Linked DNA regions of Homo sapiens: region 2 is linked to region 1. The links are contacts of gene promoters, found by promoter capture Hi-C in human tissues and cell types (Jung and others, 2019). All regions are on one chromosome and are shown on one strand. The core of a region is centred on a gene start or on the middle of the fragment in contact, and the rest is flanking DNA. Distances in the headings are between cores, read along the strand shown.

Region 1 (7,030 bases), core at 2,415-4,914:
CACACACAATAGTTTATTTTTTGTCAGCCACCACAAATCCTTTTTATAGGAAAATCTTTAAATGGTGAAATGAATTGTCCCAGTTGGTGGTGGTCTGTTCTTTATATTCTGATTTTCTTCAAATAAGATGTTGGAGTCCCTTAAAACTGAGAAGAGACAACTGATTTTATTTAGAAGCATATTCTCTGCCCTGTGTCCTGGTGTTTACTTTTCTTTTTTCCTTTCACTTTACTTTTGTACGCAGCCGTCTCTCTATTCTCCAGCCAGTCACCCCACCCCCAGGCAACATGCAGCAGTACTACTTAACAATACCTGGTCTACCAGGGATTCTAACCTATAACATAGTATGCACTAGAAAGCCCCAGACACAGCCCCACATCCCCAGGACACAGTAAATTGTATAACTATCTGCTCTCTGGTTTGTTTCAGGGAAACTGACAGATCTTTATGAAAAACTTTGCAGAGAGTGGTATGCTGAAAAGAAATAATCACATAATCACACACGGCCTCCCCCAAGGAGCATTTAGGGCCCTATCATTAATCTTTGTAACACTCCTATGAAAGAGGTGGATGGCATGTTCTCTCAGGCCAGTGTTTCATAGGTGAGGGGACAGGGCAGGCCTGGGCTTGCACATGGTCTAGAAGGGAGGAAAGAAAACTCAGCACCCTTGAGGCTCCCACCAGTCAGCCCCAGCACTGACATCTCCCATGCAGCCCGCAGCCTGGGCAATGCAGATTTTGTCTTTTACAGGAGTATTTAGCTTTTTGGGGGCAGGTATCCATATATGGCCATCCATAGCTCTTTCCGGCTTGGCAGTGCTCCCCGGACAAGCAACTCCTCACTGCACCCCATGCTGTCAGTAGCTGGCAGTAGGTTGAAATTACAGGCCTCTAGGCAAAGGTTTTTCAGAAGGTTTCGGCTCCAGATCACCTCTTACAGAAATGTATGAAATGCTCTGACCACCCACCGTTGGGATTTCCTCCCTGTGCAAACCTGAGCTGTTTGCTGGGCCCCAGCAACTTCTCTAACCCCTTATTCTCATAGGCACTCAGCACCAGGAGCTGAAAATAAAAAGGTGGCAAAGTCAGCTCTGATGCCAATCTTCTGCCACACAGCTGTGTATAATGGTTTTGCTGTTATCATTTTGCAGCCTGAATCACTTTCCCTGAAATGCTGCAGGTCTGCACTTGTGGCCTAGTAACTATTTAATGAAACTGATAATTAATCTCCTATACCACGCTCTGTTACTTGTAGAACTAACGTCCACAATGCAACAGTAGAAGAATAAAATGCGTAAAGATGAGAAAAAAGACAGCAAGTTGTCAAGATACAGTAATTGGTAAGGAATTAAAAATAGAACCTCCTACCAGATTACAAGATGGCCTCTCCCTTCCAAGATGGATATCAAACACTTTTTTGTCACAATCTGAAGAGATACAATTATCATAAGCCCCAGAAGGGGTTTCTTCCTCATGTGCTTAGTGAGGTCTGTCTTTAGGAACCCAAACAACTGTTATAAAGTGGATTCCTATATATCTAGGAAGTGAAAAGCTAGAAGGCTAGAAGGCAAAAACTTAAAGTTCTGTGCAATACAATAATTACGTTACAAGTAATAATGTTTACAGGGCACTCAACATATGCCAGGCATGATAAACAAAATGCTATAGAAGCATTGCTTCATTTAATACTCATAAAAATTGATGAGAGATATTTCCCCATTTTACAGATGAGAAAACAGAGTGTCAGAAGTAAATTGCTTCAGATCACTCCTCCAGGAAACCAAACAGCCTGAGTTTGAATCCAGTTTTTTCTGACCTCATGGTTTTTTTTTTCTGACCTCATGATGATCACTCTCCAGTTTTGCAACATCCTGAAATGTCTTCTGAATTATCAAATAAAAATTAACTCATTTGTGTTAAGTAGCAGTGTCATATTTTAATATCAAGTGGGTGGTCTTCCGAATATGTAAGTTTTGTAAAATAAGCCAACAAAAAACACACCTCACAGAACTAAGAAATCAGATGCTCAGATTGAAGGGATATTGTGGGAACCAAATAAAATCTTGAATATGAAAAATCTTAGGAAAAGACATAGCATTCTACGGAAGAATGACAATGTCATTGCTATCAAAAATATCAGTGTGGGCTGGCTGCTATGGCTCACGCCTGTAATCCCAGCACTTTGGGAGGCCGAGTTGGGCAGATCACTTGAGGCCAGGAGTTTAAGAGCAGCCTGGCCAACATGGTGAAACTCTGTCTCTACTAAAAATACAAAAATTAGCCGGGTGTGGAAGCATGCATCTGTAATCCCTGCTACTTGGGGTGCTGAGGCAGAAGAATCTCTTGAACCCGGCAGGCGGAGGTTGCAGTGAGCCAAGATCGAGACACTGCACTCCAGCCTGGGCGACAGAGTGAGACTCCGTCTCAAAAAAAAAAAAAAGTCAATGTGTATGTGATATGTGTGGTAATTCTCAGTTGACCAGCATATTCTGTATATCAAAATATGTGCTTACCTAACCAATTTACACACCGGTCACTTGTGAACAAGCCACCTTTTTACCTCGTTGTCCTGTGAGATGCAGAACCACGCATATTTTAGAGCTTAGGCATTAGAACTTTTCCTTTTTCAACTTATTTCTGGGCCACATCCACGTCCCCAGTTTCTCTGGAAAAGGCTGAGAAAACTCCTAAAGCGCAACAAAGTGTTAAGTTGCTGACACACGAATTACAATTAGGGTCACCGTCAAGGGAGCCGATTTACGGCCCCCCTCCTCCGTTTTCTTGTTACCTATCAACGCGGCTGCATACACTAGCAGGTAGCAGCACCTGTAATTAATTTGCCCCCACGTGTCTCATTTGATGGGGGGGGGCGTTTCCAGCTCTGATGTGCGCGGCGTGGAAACAGTATTAAAGCCGCTCAGGACAAGGAGATGTAAGGCTCCCAGAAAGACCTCCTTACTTGTTCCGAACTCGAGTTATGAAGAAGACAGCGCATGGTTTATTGACCAATGAAACAACCAGAGAACTTTCTTCTAAAGGTTTTAAGGAAGAGTGATTACACTATATAAATAGCGCTATTTCAGGTTTGAACAATTTGAGAGGCCCGTTGTAGCCTTTCAACTCCTCCTTCCTCACATAATCTAAGAGAAAAGAAGACTAAGATAGTTGCAAATCTCAGGGTAGGTCCTCACGGAGGAAAGACGAACACTGGCCTGACCCTGGGCTTTAGAAACCCATGGACAACAGGAAGGAAGCTTATTAACCCCTCTCTTCCCCCTCCCTCTTCTCCCCGGTGGAGAATCAGCTCCTCCTCCTCCCGGTCGTGAGACCCTGGTGCAAAATGCAAACAACCGCCCGCTTTCCCCACCCTGCGCGCTTCTCCCAGAGGAGGGAGAGGGAAGAGGCGAGGGCGCAGCCCCAAGCCGAGTCCAGCAAGTCTGTCAATCGGACGTGAACGTCCCGACGAGACAACTTGAACCTCAGGGCCCTCGCGCCAGCCGGACACCGCAGGTACCCCCTTTACCTGCTTCTCTGCTGGGTTTGCATCCGATACCCCAACTCCTAGCCTCATTTTCCCCCCAGCCCCATAATATTCCGGACCCCTGCTCCCCGTGCAGGTGGTGCAAACGCCCCTGCTCTCCGGCGCCCCCTGCCGGGAAGAGGGAAGGCGGCGGCGGCCGCGGAGGAGCAGGACGCTTGGTCCGGACGGAGCTCGGCGCTGGGAAGAAGCCGGGAGCTTCCCTGATGGTGCCGCCGCCTCCGAGCCGGGGAGGAGCTGCCAGGGGCCAGCTGGGCAGGAGCCTGGGTCCGCTGCTGCTGCTCCTGGCGTTGGGACACACGTGGACCTACAGAGAGGAGCCGGAGGACGGCGACAGGTAAGCGCTGCAAGCCCCAGCGGAGGGCGAGCTCCTGCTTGATGCGCGCCCGGCTCGCGGGGTGCGGGCGGTCCTCCCCGGCGCCCACTCCCACAGCGATCCGCACGCCCTCACTTCTCCGGGGATAAGGAGAGTGCTCAGCTGTCCTGGGCGACACTTCCCTCCGCTCCCGGGTATCAGCCTTTGCGCCCTGCCATCCGTGGGTCGCGTCAGGGATACCCTTCGCCCCGCGTTCCTGCCTCCCCCCGGGTGCCACACTGGCTGGCACAGCTCGTGAACCCCGCTTCCTTTCTCCTGGAGCTGGTTCGCTTCGTCGTGACCCTCGCGTGGCTCGTCCCTGTGGCCGGAGTCTGCCCCGCGTACGCGTTTGGGGACCAGCCCCTGCCCAGAGCGCCGGGACGGGGAGCCTGGCGATCCCCACGCGCCAGGGATTCCCCAGCGCGCGCTGCCCGCCTCCGCTCTCCCGCTGAGAATCGAACATTTCCTCTGCACTTTTTCATAGAGAAATCTGCTCAGAGAGCAAAATCGCGACGACTAAATACCCGTGTCTGAAGTCTTCAGGCGAGCTCACCACATGCTACAGGTAAGCCTGGGGGCTCTGCGGGCTGTTCGCCACTGCGCACCGGGGCTGGCTGGGGAGGCGGCGCTGTAAAGGAGGGGTTTGGAGACGCGCTTGGGACCGGAGCAGCTTTTACGCTGGAACCTGCTGGGTGCGTGCCGCGCGGTGCGAATCTTTGAGGGTTGGTTGGATCGGAGTCAGAGCAACACTGAGCAACTGACTTTGCGTCTAGGGTGTGTGCCCTGAGATCCTGAGGATGGTTGCCGCTCCCTGAAATACTTGTGTGGAAGTCTGTGAAGGAGATTGGATTGGATTTTGGGTGTAAACAGTGGGGCATAGCAAACACGGGTGGCTGCTTTCGTATTTGTGTTTTGTTTTGAAAGTACAGCGTCAACAAGGCAATTCTTGGCACTTGTCTGTCTTCTGACCTTCTGTTGGGGCAGAGTGTGGCTGTCACGGCCTCTGGACAAAAAAGTAGGGGGAGGATTGTGAGTGGTTGTGTTGAGTGAAAACAAAAAGATTGTTGGGGCAGAGGAAAAAAGTCTTTCTAAAAATGTGGGCCACAGATTCACCTGGGTATTTGTTAAATGAGTGACCCGGGTGCTTGTTAAAACTAAGCGTGGATGGGGCTAGGGAATCGGTAGTTATAAAATGTTCCCCAGGTGGTTCTTGTCTCTGAAAGGAGAGAACCACTGTTCTGCTTGCAGCCTTTTGGAGATGAGGGTTGATTTAGGTTTTTCACCATTGAATTCTTGGTTCTGTTCCAGTGCTCTCACTGGATAGGGGAACATGCACCCATAAACGTTTATTGGATATCTGCGTTTTAGAGGCGCTGTACAAGGTAATGTGATCATATGCCCACACCTGACTGTCTCTGGAGACTCACATGCTCTGTTCGGGTTGCCAGGATAAATACTGAGTAGTACAAGGTAACGCAGCAGTCCCTAGAAACGAACTTGAAAGAAAACAATGTTTTATTCCTTATAAGGTTGTAGCCTGTGAATCAATCATAGCGTTTCTTGCAGGTGAGAGCATTTCATATACCCAAAGGTTCAGACCAAGTGGTTCCACGGCTGTCAGTTTATGGGTGCAAAAGCACCATCAGTTACATCGCGTACTTCTGCTCTTAAATCTGTTGTTGGCAGTGAAGGGACAATAATCAGGCAAATCAAGTCACTCCTTGGGCTTAGGAAAGGCTCCTTTCTCTTGGCGTGTGCGGGGGGTGAATGCTGAACAAAATGAGAGAGGTAGTAGAGGAGAAAGGAGTATGTTCAATTGGCAGGTTAAGACTTAAAGAGGCTAACTGGGTGAGCAAGGTCACCGAGCTGGTGAAGTGACCTGGTGGTGCTGGCAGCAGGATTGCTTGCCTGGTTCCAGCCGTGTCTTTCATCCACACGACCACAGTGTTTCTTAGGACACATTGTTTTCCTATCAGCACAGTATAAAGCCTCGAATTTAACATGGGAAATGTCTCTGAGATGGTTTGCTCATTTTTTCAGTCCCTGAAGGTCGGACTTCACATAAATCAGTGACAGTTACAGAATGCATGTTAGATTTTCAGAAACCATTTGGTGCCTGATTGTTTGTTAATGCCATTACTGTCATCTTTTCCAGACTTCTTAAAGCAGTGTGGTGTTTCTTTTATACTCTTTGAACAGGAGACACTAGCAGCACCTTGGCATGTGTTTTCACTAATAGCTACTCAAATTGCTATGAGATCTCGCAAAAATGACATTTTATATCAAGGAGAATAAAGAACTTTGTTTAAAGGAATGGGAAACGATGCTTTCAGCTTGAAAGTGGTGTTGATCCTTGTGTATATGAAAAGATCTTAGATTTTGTTTTTAGATCTATTTTCTCTATGGAAGTCGAGAGTTCTCTGTATTCCGTTGGTCTTATCCTGTTTCTATAATCTACTCTTCTTGAATCCCAAGAATAGAGGATATTATTTTCCTTAGTTTGTGACTTGATTGTCCTAGCCCTTTATACCCTCACTACCTCAAGTATCATCTGGAAACCAGCCGCACAGCATGATTTTGGGAGCTTGTTGGAATCCTGGGCCTCTGCCCCCAGATCTCTTAAATCAGAATCTGTCTTAATGAGAGATGCATAAAATCTTGAAGCACTGCTGTAAGAAACCAGTGTCCTCATCCCCAGGACGCATGCAGACCTATTTAGACAGATCCTTAAAGGAGCATGGAGGCCTTTCAGTTGACCAAACAGTTAGCTCTCCTACCTCACTAAACTAAAGGTTAAACTAAAGTGAGATAAAGAACCAGCATTCCAGGAAGCCAGTCTTTAAAGGTTACTTTGAATTGAGCTGTAAGTAATACAGCATTACTGATGATGGAATGTTCTTTGACTGTATAGAATTCTCTTTACCAGGTGGCTGTTGGTGAATGGTTTTCAGCACAAGTGAAGGAACTCTGGAAGCCACTTCTGAACTTGAAGTGTGTTTAAAAATGACTTTAAAAAAGTTACTAGGCCGGGTGCGGTGGCTCATGCCTGTAATCCCAGCACTTTGGGAGGCGGAGGTGGGTGGGTCATGAGGTCAAGAGATCGAGACCATTCTGGCCAACATGATAAAACCCCGTCT
Region 2 (7,030 bases), core at 1,843-4,342, 260 kb after region 1:
AAACCCAAGTCTCCCTGATGCTAAAACCTGTACTGCTCTCCAGCCATGATCACCACTTCTCTGTGGTGGTGGCCACTACTCTGCTGTGATCCAGTGGATAGAAGGGAGCAGACAGCTGTGAGATGTTAAAGAGGTAAAATGCACAGGAGCTGGCCACTGATTCAAAAAGGAGGTTGCAGAAACAGGGAAATATAGAGGAAGACTCTCCAGTTTTTGGCTTGAGTGGATGTATGACTGGCAGTCCGCGAAAAGAGAGGAAGATGGGGAAGCCGCTTTTGATCGTATCAAGTTTAAAATGCCTGTGGGACAGCCTGATGGAGATGTCAGAAGGCAAAGGCAGAGAGAGTACAAAGAGAAATGGCTGCAGGGGTCCTGGACTCTTGTTAGCCAGGGCCCTTTGTCCTTCTCATGTGCTGTGAGCTAATGAGGTGTTCTTTGATTACAGGCTCACCAGGACCAAAGGGAAGCCCAGGCTTCCCCGGTATGCCAGGCCCTCCTGGGCAGCCCGGCCCACGGGGCTCAATGGGACCCATGGGACCATCTCCTGATCTGTCCCACATTAAGCAAGGCCGGAGGGGCCCTGTGGTCAGTATCTTATCAGAGATCCACTTCCTTTTTGGGGGAAAATGTGTTTTTGTCCCATGCTTTTGCCTGTGGTTAAACCAGATCCTTTTGTATTACAGGGTCCACCAGGGGCACCAGGAAGAGATGGTTCTAAGGTAAGCCTTATGAGTGGTCCTCACAAGCTAAAGGTCTCTCACTTTCGATTTTTTTGTTTTGTTTTGTTTTTGTTTTTTGAGATGGTCTTGCTCTGTCACCCAGGCTGGAGTGCAATGGCACAATCTTGGCTCATTACAGCCTCTGCCTCTCTGGCTCAAGCCCAATTCTCCCGCCTCAGCCTCCCAAGCAGCTGGGACCACAGGTGTGCACCACCACTCCCGGCTAATTTTTGGATTTTTCTTTTTTTTTCTTTTTGAGACAGAGTCTCACTCTGTCACCCAGGCTGGAGTGCAGTGGCACGATCTCAGCTCACGGCAAGCTCCACCTCCCGAGTTCACGCCATTCTCCTGCCTCAGCCTCCCGAGTAGCTGGGACTACAGGCGACCGCCACCACACCTGGCTAATTTTTTTGTATTTTCAGTAGAGACAGGGTTTCATCGTGTTAGCCAGGATGGTCTCCATCTCCTGACTTCGTGATCCGCCCACCTCGGCCTCCCCAAGTGCTGGGATTACAGGCGTGAGCCACCACACCCGGCCTAATTTTTGGATTTTTTAGTAGAGACGGGGTTTCGCCATGTTACCCAGGCTGGCCTTAAACTCCTGACCCCAGGTGATCTGCCCGTCTCAGCCTCCCAAAGTGCTGGTATTACAGGTGTGAGGCACCGCTCCCGGCCTGAAGGTCTCTCACTTTCTACCTCTTGCACTGACATCCAGGAAAGCTCACCAGACACTGTTTACCAACCCCATTTTGCATGCAGCAGAAGTGAGACACAGATACCAGATAGAACTTTTTCCCCAAAGCTGGGAACAAAATCTGAAAAGCCATTGTCTTCAATTCCAAAACCAACCCCAAAGACAAAAACAACCACCACAACCACTCATAGGAAAAGTGACCCCTGTAAATTTTAAATGAGCCTCTGTGTTGTGATTCTCACATGTGTTTTTCTCTTTAACCAGTGTTGCTTTACGGGATAGCTTTTTGTGTGTTTCCATTTCTGTGAGATTTCTCAGGAACAGGAGATGCTCCATTCTTTTTGCAAGCAGGGTGGTTCCCCTCTGAGAGCTGCCTGCTCTTTTTTGCCTCACAAAGAAGTCAGTGTGAGTTACTTCAGAAAGTTTGTTACTCCACATGCTGTTGGGAAATATGAACATTCCTCTTGCCAAGAAGGTTTGAAAATAGATGGGCTTGAGGGAAATCAGAATGAGAGACACTTGACCCAAGCAGTCCTGTTCAAATAAGTGGTCCCGTGAGTCCAGCTCAGTTTTACATATGTTTTCTATAGAAAATGTTTATTGTTTTGTGCAGGGAAGTGGTTATGGTGGGTGTATAAATAGAGACTATTCTTGTGATATCCATGTGCTCTAGAAAGCTAACCCTGGCCTTTCTGTTTTTAGGGGGAGAGAGGAGCGCCTGGGCCCAGAGGGTCTCCAGTAAGTAGCACTCTGTGTCCTGCTTCCCCAGGGGAACGTTCTCAGGGATGCAGCTCTGATGAGCCTATAGGTTGGTCTAGTAGCAAAAGCCCGCCCCTTCCTGATGCCACTCAGCCCACCTGAACAGAACTCTGTGGTTAGGAAGAGAGTCATAGAAGCCCTTAGCTGCTAGTTTGGATTTATTTTTCAAATTTGTTTTCTGTTGCTGTTTTCTCTTTTATCATGGCTAATCTTTATTTGAAATGTCTTTCCTAAAGCTCAAAACCCTGCTATGCCATGAGTCTGTTTCCAAGTATTATCATAAAACATTTGAAAGGTCTAGGAAGGAAATCTATGGGTTTAAATCATAACTCTGCGTACTTGAGAATTTAGCCACTGCTGCAACCCTAGCAGGCCAGATGGCCATCTCCTCTTAAAAAGTGCAAAACCACGCAGGGCTGTTTAGGACCTGAGAAGAAATTAGCTGCATATAAGCATAGTATCTGGGAGATTAAAAATGAGAAATAGTAGTATTCAAAAGCATAGAAAATTCAAACCACGTCACTGCTTCTGAAGAAGTATCATTTCTGAAATCCAGCGGCTGTGGCCACAGAGGTAGGAGTCGTGGGTTCCCATCTCAACTCTTCTACCTGCTGGCTTTCTGACCACGGGCACTTCACTGAGGGTCTCTGGGCATTCTTGCCCCCCACTGTGCAGTGGCGATAGTGGAATCTGACCTGCCATCCCTGAAGTGGCTACTGTGAGGGTCAAATGATATGAAAATACTGTGCCTCTCTTAGTGCTTTACGGTGTAAGCTCTGCTTCCACGGTGCCCGCTGCTGTAGCAGCAGTTGCGGGAGATGATAACGATTTTACTACAAGCTTCTGACAAGCCCAGAACATGCGTGTTTGTGCATTTCTTTTTTACCATGCCCCACACAGCGCTATATGAAATTAAGGCTTAGTAAATACTATATGATGATAAAGGATACTCAATACATAGAAAAATTAGGAAGATTTTGTTTGGACCTTTCCTAGTCAACGAGGAGTTGACGTCTTTACAACATCCTCTCAACTTCATTTAGTTTGTGCTTATAGTCAGCCATCTTATAAACATTTTAATAATTTTGCTTTTAAAAAATAACAGCATTGTTTTTTTTGAGACAGGGTCTCACTCTGTCACCCAGGCTGGAGTGCAGTGGCACAATCTTGGCTCACTGCAGCCTCGACCTCTTGGGCTCAAGTGATCCTCCCACCTTAGCCTCCCAAGTAGCTGGGTCCACAGGTGCCCACCACCACACCTGGCTAAATTTTTGTTAAATTTTTGTAGAGACAGGGTTTCACCATGTTTTCCAGGTTGGTCTTGAACTCCTGGGCTCAAGCTATCCATCCACCTCGGCCTCCCAAAGTGCTAGGATTATAGGCGTGAGCCACCACACCTGGCCCAGATAACATTTTTGAATACGTATTATGCTCAAAGCCCTTTACACGTATTTACTTGCTTAAATCCTCACTTATGAATCCTACAAAACCCTATGAAGTTGGGACTATTATTATCCCCGTTTTACAGATGGGGAAACTGAACCACAAGAAATTAAGATGACACAGCTAGTAAGCGGCAGAGATGAGATTCAAATCCAACAGAACCCCAGTCTCTTAACCACTGCTCTGCTGCCTTCATAAGCATCTTCCAGACTGCTTTGGAAAGTAACCTAGGAGAGTTATTCTTATATCCTTTCCTCTACTGGATTTGATAAAGCGTTAGGAGGGAGGAAAGGTGAATACATCACCAAAGCTCAGCTGAGAAGTGACAGAATTAGAAAACAATATGGAGGACCCCCAGGCTCCTGTAGCAGTCCTCACATTGGCTCCATTTGGGGCACAGAGTTATTGAGAAAGTAGTTGCCAGCAAGCAGCAGGTCAAGTCATGGAGCCCCGGAGGCCATTGCTGTCTGTCGTATTCTAGCTTTGATTCCTCCCATGTACACAGGGACCCCCTGGTTCTTTCGACTTCCTGCTACTTATGCTGGCTGACATCCGCAATGACATCACTGAGCTGCAGGAAAAGGTGTTCGGGCACCGGACTCACTCTTCAGCAGAGGAGTTCCCTTTACCTCAGGAATTTCCCAGCTACCCAGAAGCCATGGACCTGGGCTCTGGAGATGACCATCCAAGAAGAACTGAGACAAGAGACTTGAGAGCCCCCAGAGACTTCTACCCATAGCACATCCCAACACCGTCACGCCAAAGGAAGAGAAAGATCAACTCACCTGCAGTTAAACCATCTAAAGAGAAGAAAGACCACTGGAGACCTAGAAAACATACATTTTTCTCTTCTCTTCTCCTGACGTCTCTCCACTCCTCTTCTTCCAAATACGATGCTATTTTCAGAGTCCCCTCCTAGGCCTGCAGACATGAGGGAGTGAATGATTGATTTACCTGCTTCTCACTAAGAGTCCATTGGGGTGGTTTGCATTGTAACTTTTCTTTTACATCCTATTTTTCCAGGAACTTTGGATTTAAGTACTCTCACAGTGTCTTAAATCATAAATTCTTGAAGTTAAATTTGGCAGAGTATCAAAAGGGGGAAAATGACAAAGTGAGCTCTAAGAAAATGTGAGGCTACTTCTAAGATGTGTGTTCACAATAGACCATAACTCCTCTAGTATCAAAATTGGGGCTCTTCAGTTAAAAAGGGGTGGGGAGGACAAACGTGTCGATGTGCTTTGGTGGAGAATTTTTTCCTTGTGCTTCTAGTAGACTTTAAATATTGTATCCCTTTGTCAAACCTTGTTTCCCAAATTCAATTAAAGAGAGGAGAGAATTGAATGGCGTTTAGAGAAGATAGAAAAGAATCACAGTCATATATTTACTGTTATATAGATTGCCACATTCTAAAATTCAAATACGGTGCTTAAGGTTTCATGCCATGCTTATCTGTAAGTATCCTATTTAGGGAAGAAGATTAAACTCTCTTTTCAAAAAAACAAAGTGAAATGCCTGGATTCACATTAAAACAATGGGCTCTCGTTTGCTATAATATTTTAAAGCTGTTTAATCAACAGTGGAGTCTGCTCTATAAATATAGATTATTTGTTCAATAAACTGGCTGAGCTTAGAGAGAGGTGCAGAATTCCTGGTTCTGAGCAGGTGCCCAGAAGGTACCATTAGGTGCCATGATCCAGGCTGAACCAATATACAGTGGGGCTGAAGTCTGCAAGGAGGTTGCTGGCTTGGGCTGACCTCACTAATGCCATCAGCAGCGGTAGGTAAATTTTTTCTCCTTGGGTATTACAAGTTTTTGTCTGGAGCCAACCAAGCTTGCCACCAACATATTGAGAGTAATACACTATTGAAAGTTATCTTGGATGGGGAGAAAAAAAAATAGTGGTTTTCCTTGTTTGCAAAAACTTCCTTCCTATTCTCATTTTTTCTTAATTTTCTTTAATTTAGTCCAAGTTCCAGTTCTTTTAGGCCTTCTCTTTGATTTATTTTCCCCTGCATGTGAGAAGCAGTTCAGAAAAAGGTCTATATCTCCACCTCCTAGTGAGTTAGAGTGTTTTCTCAGAGCACCTCTGGGTGGCAAAGGGAAGCATGTTCCTGCCAAGGTTTGCTGTGGATTCAGAAGCACCAGGAGCAAGAGACCAGAAGGATGATCTGCTCCTTTGTAACGTTGTTGAGGGCCCTCTTGTTTCCAATGAGCAGCTTATAGGTTACTCACAGTCCACTTTCTCACTGGACACACAAAGTGGCTCTTTATCTACCTTTGCGGGAGATTTTCACTCTCCTGCAAATGATCGTTCTCACACTCATATTAGCTCATGTTGGAATTTCCCATCCTGCCATGTCCTTTCCCATTTCTTTTTGGCTTTTTTGCCTCCACCTTTTAGCCCACATCATTTAACTCCACTACTGTGAAAGCTTGCTTAAAGAAAATCCCTCTTGGCCGGGTGTGGTAGCCCACGCCTCTAATCCCAGCACTTTGGGAGGCTGAGGCGGGGAGATCACAAGGTCAGGAGATCGAGACCAGCCTGACCAACATGGTGAAACCCTGTCTCTACTAAAAATACAAAAATTAGCTGGGCGTGTTGGCACACACCTGTAATCCCAGCTACTCAGGAGGCTGAGGCAGGAGAATTACTTTAACCTGCGGGGGGAGCCTAGATTGCGCTACTGCACTCCAGCCTAGGCAACAGAGGGAGACTCTGTCTCATTAAAAAAAAAAAAAAAAAAAAAAAAAGGCCGGGCTTGGTGGCTCATGCCTGTAATCCCAGCACTTTGGGAGGCCGAGGCGGGCGGATCACGAGGTCAGGAGATCGAGACCACAGTGAAACCCTGTCTCTACTAAAAACACAAAAAATTAGTCGGGCGTGGTGGTGGGCGCCTGTGGTCCCAGCTGCTCGGGAGGCTGAGGCAGGAGAATGGCGTGAACCTGGGAGGCGGAGCTTGCGCTGAGCCGAGATCGTGCCACTGCACTCCAGCCTGGGCGACAGAGCGAGACTCTGTCTCAAAAAAAAAAAAATATCCCTTTTGTTGTGTTTGAATGCCACCTTTCAGTCTTCTTCCTTAAGAATGTTAGGAAGGGGCTTTGCAAACCTCTAGTGGCAACAGTCTTCCTTCCCTTCTTCCTACCACGTTGGAAATGCAGGACTCATGTCAGTCAGCATGTGACCGAGTCTTTCATGAACACTTTGCTCCTCTATGTCTCATTTATGCAAAATTCCTGGTGACTCTCCACTAACATTTTTAAAGTGAAAGCAAACTTTCACTTTAAAAAAAGTGAGCGAGAGGATCCCTTGAGCCCAGGAGTTCAAGGCCAGTCTGGGCAACATAGCAAGACCCCATCCCTAAAAAAAAAAAAATAAGTTTTATTAAATGTGGCACTTTCCCCTAGAAGGGC

What was found. Contacts are between HindIII fragments. The study calls those that stand out against the background at their distance.
Region 2: a contact is called between a fragment that was not itself captured here and the fragment with the promoter of CCBE1 in region 1, in 2 of the 25 tissues and cell types used here (aorta and thymus).

What each region holds. Positions count from the first base shown.
Region 1 is chr18:59,694,057-59,701,086 of GRCh38, reverse strand. CCBE1 (collagen and calcium binding EGF domains 1) reads left to right here and starts at 3,664. Exons shown (of 11, transcript NM_133459.4): 1 at 3,664-3,875; 2 at 4,378-4,458. The coding sequence starts at 3,745. The HindIII fragment of the contact is 11,314 bases long and covers 1-7,030 here.
Region 2 is chr18:59,433,232-59,440,261 of GRCh38, reverse strand. It overlaps CCBE1 (collagen and calcium binding EGF domains 1), which reads left to right. Exons shown (of 11, transcript NM_133459.4): 8 at 446-585; 9 at 684-719; 10 at 2,116-2,151; 11 at 4,121-7,030. The coding sequence ends at 4,354. Among named protein-coding and RNA genes, the nearest start is that of LMAN1, 77 kb to the right of the region's middle. The HindIII fragment of the contact is 7,625 bases long and covers 1-6,904 here.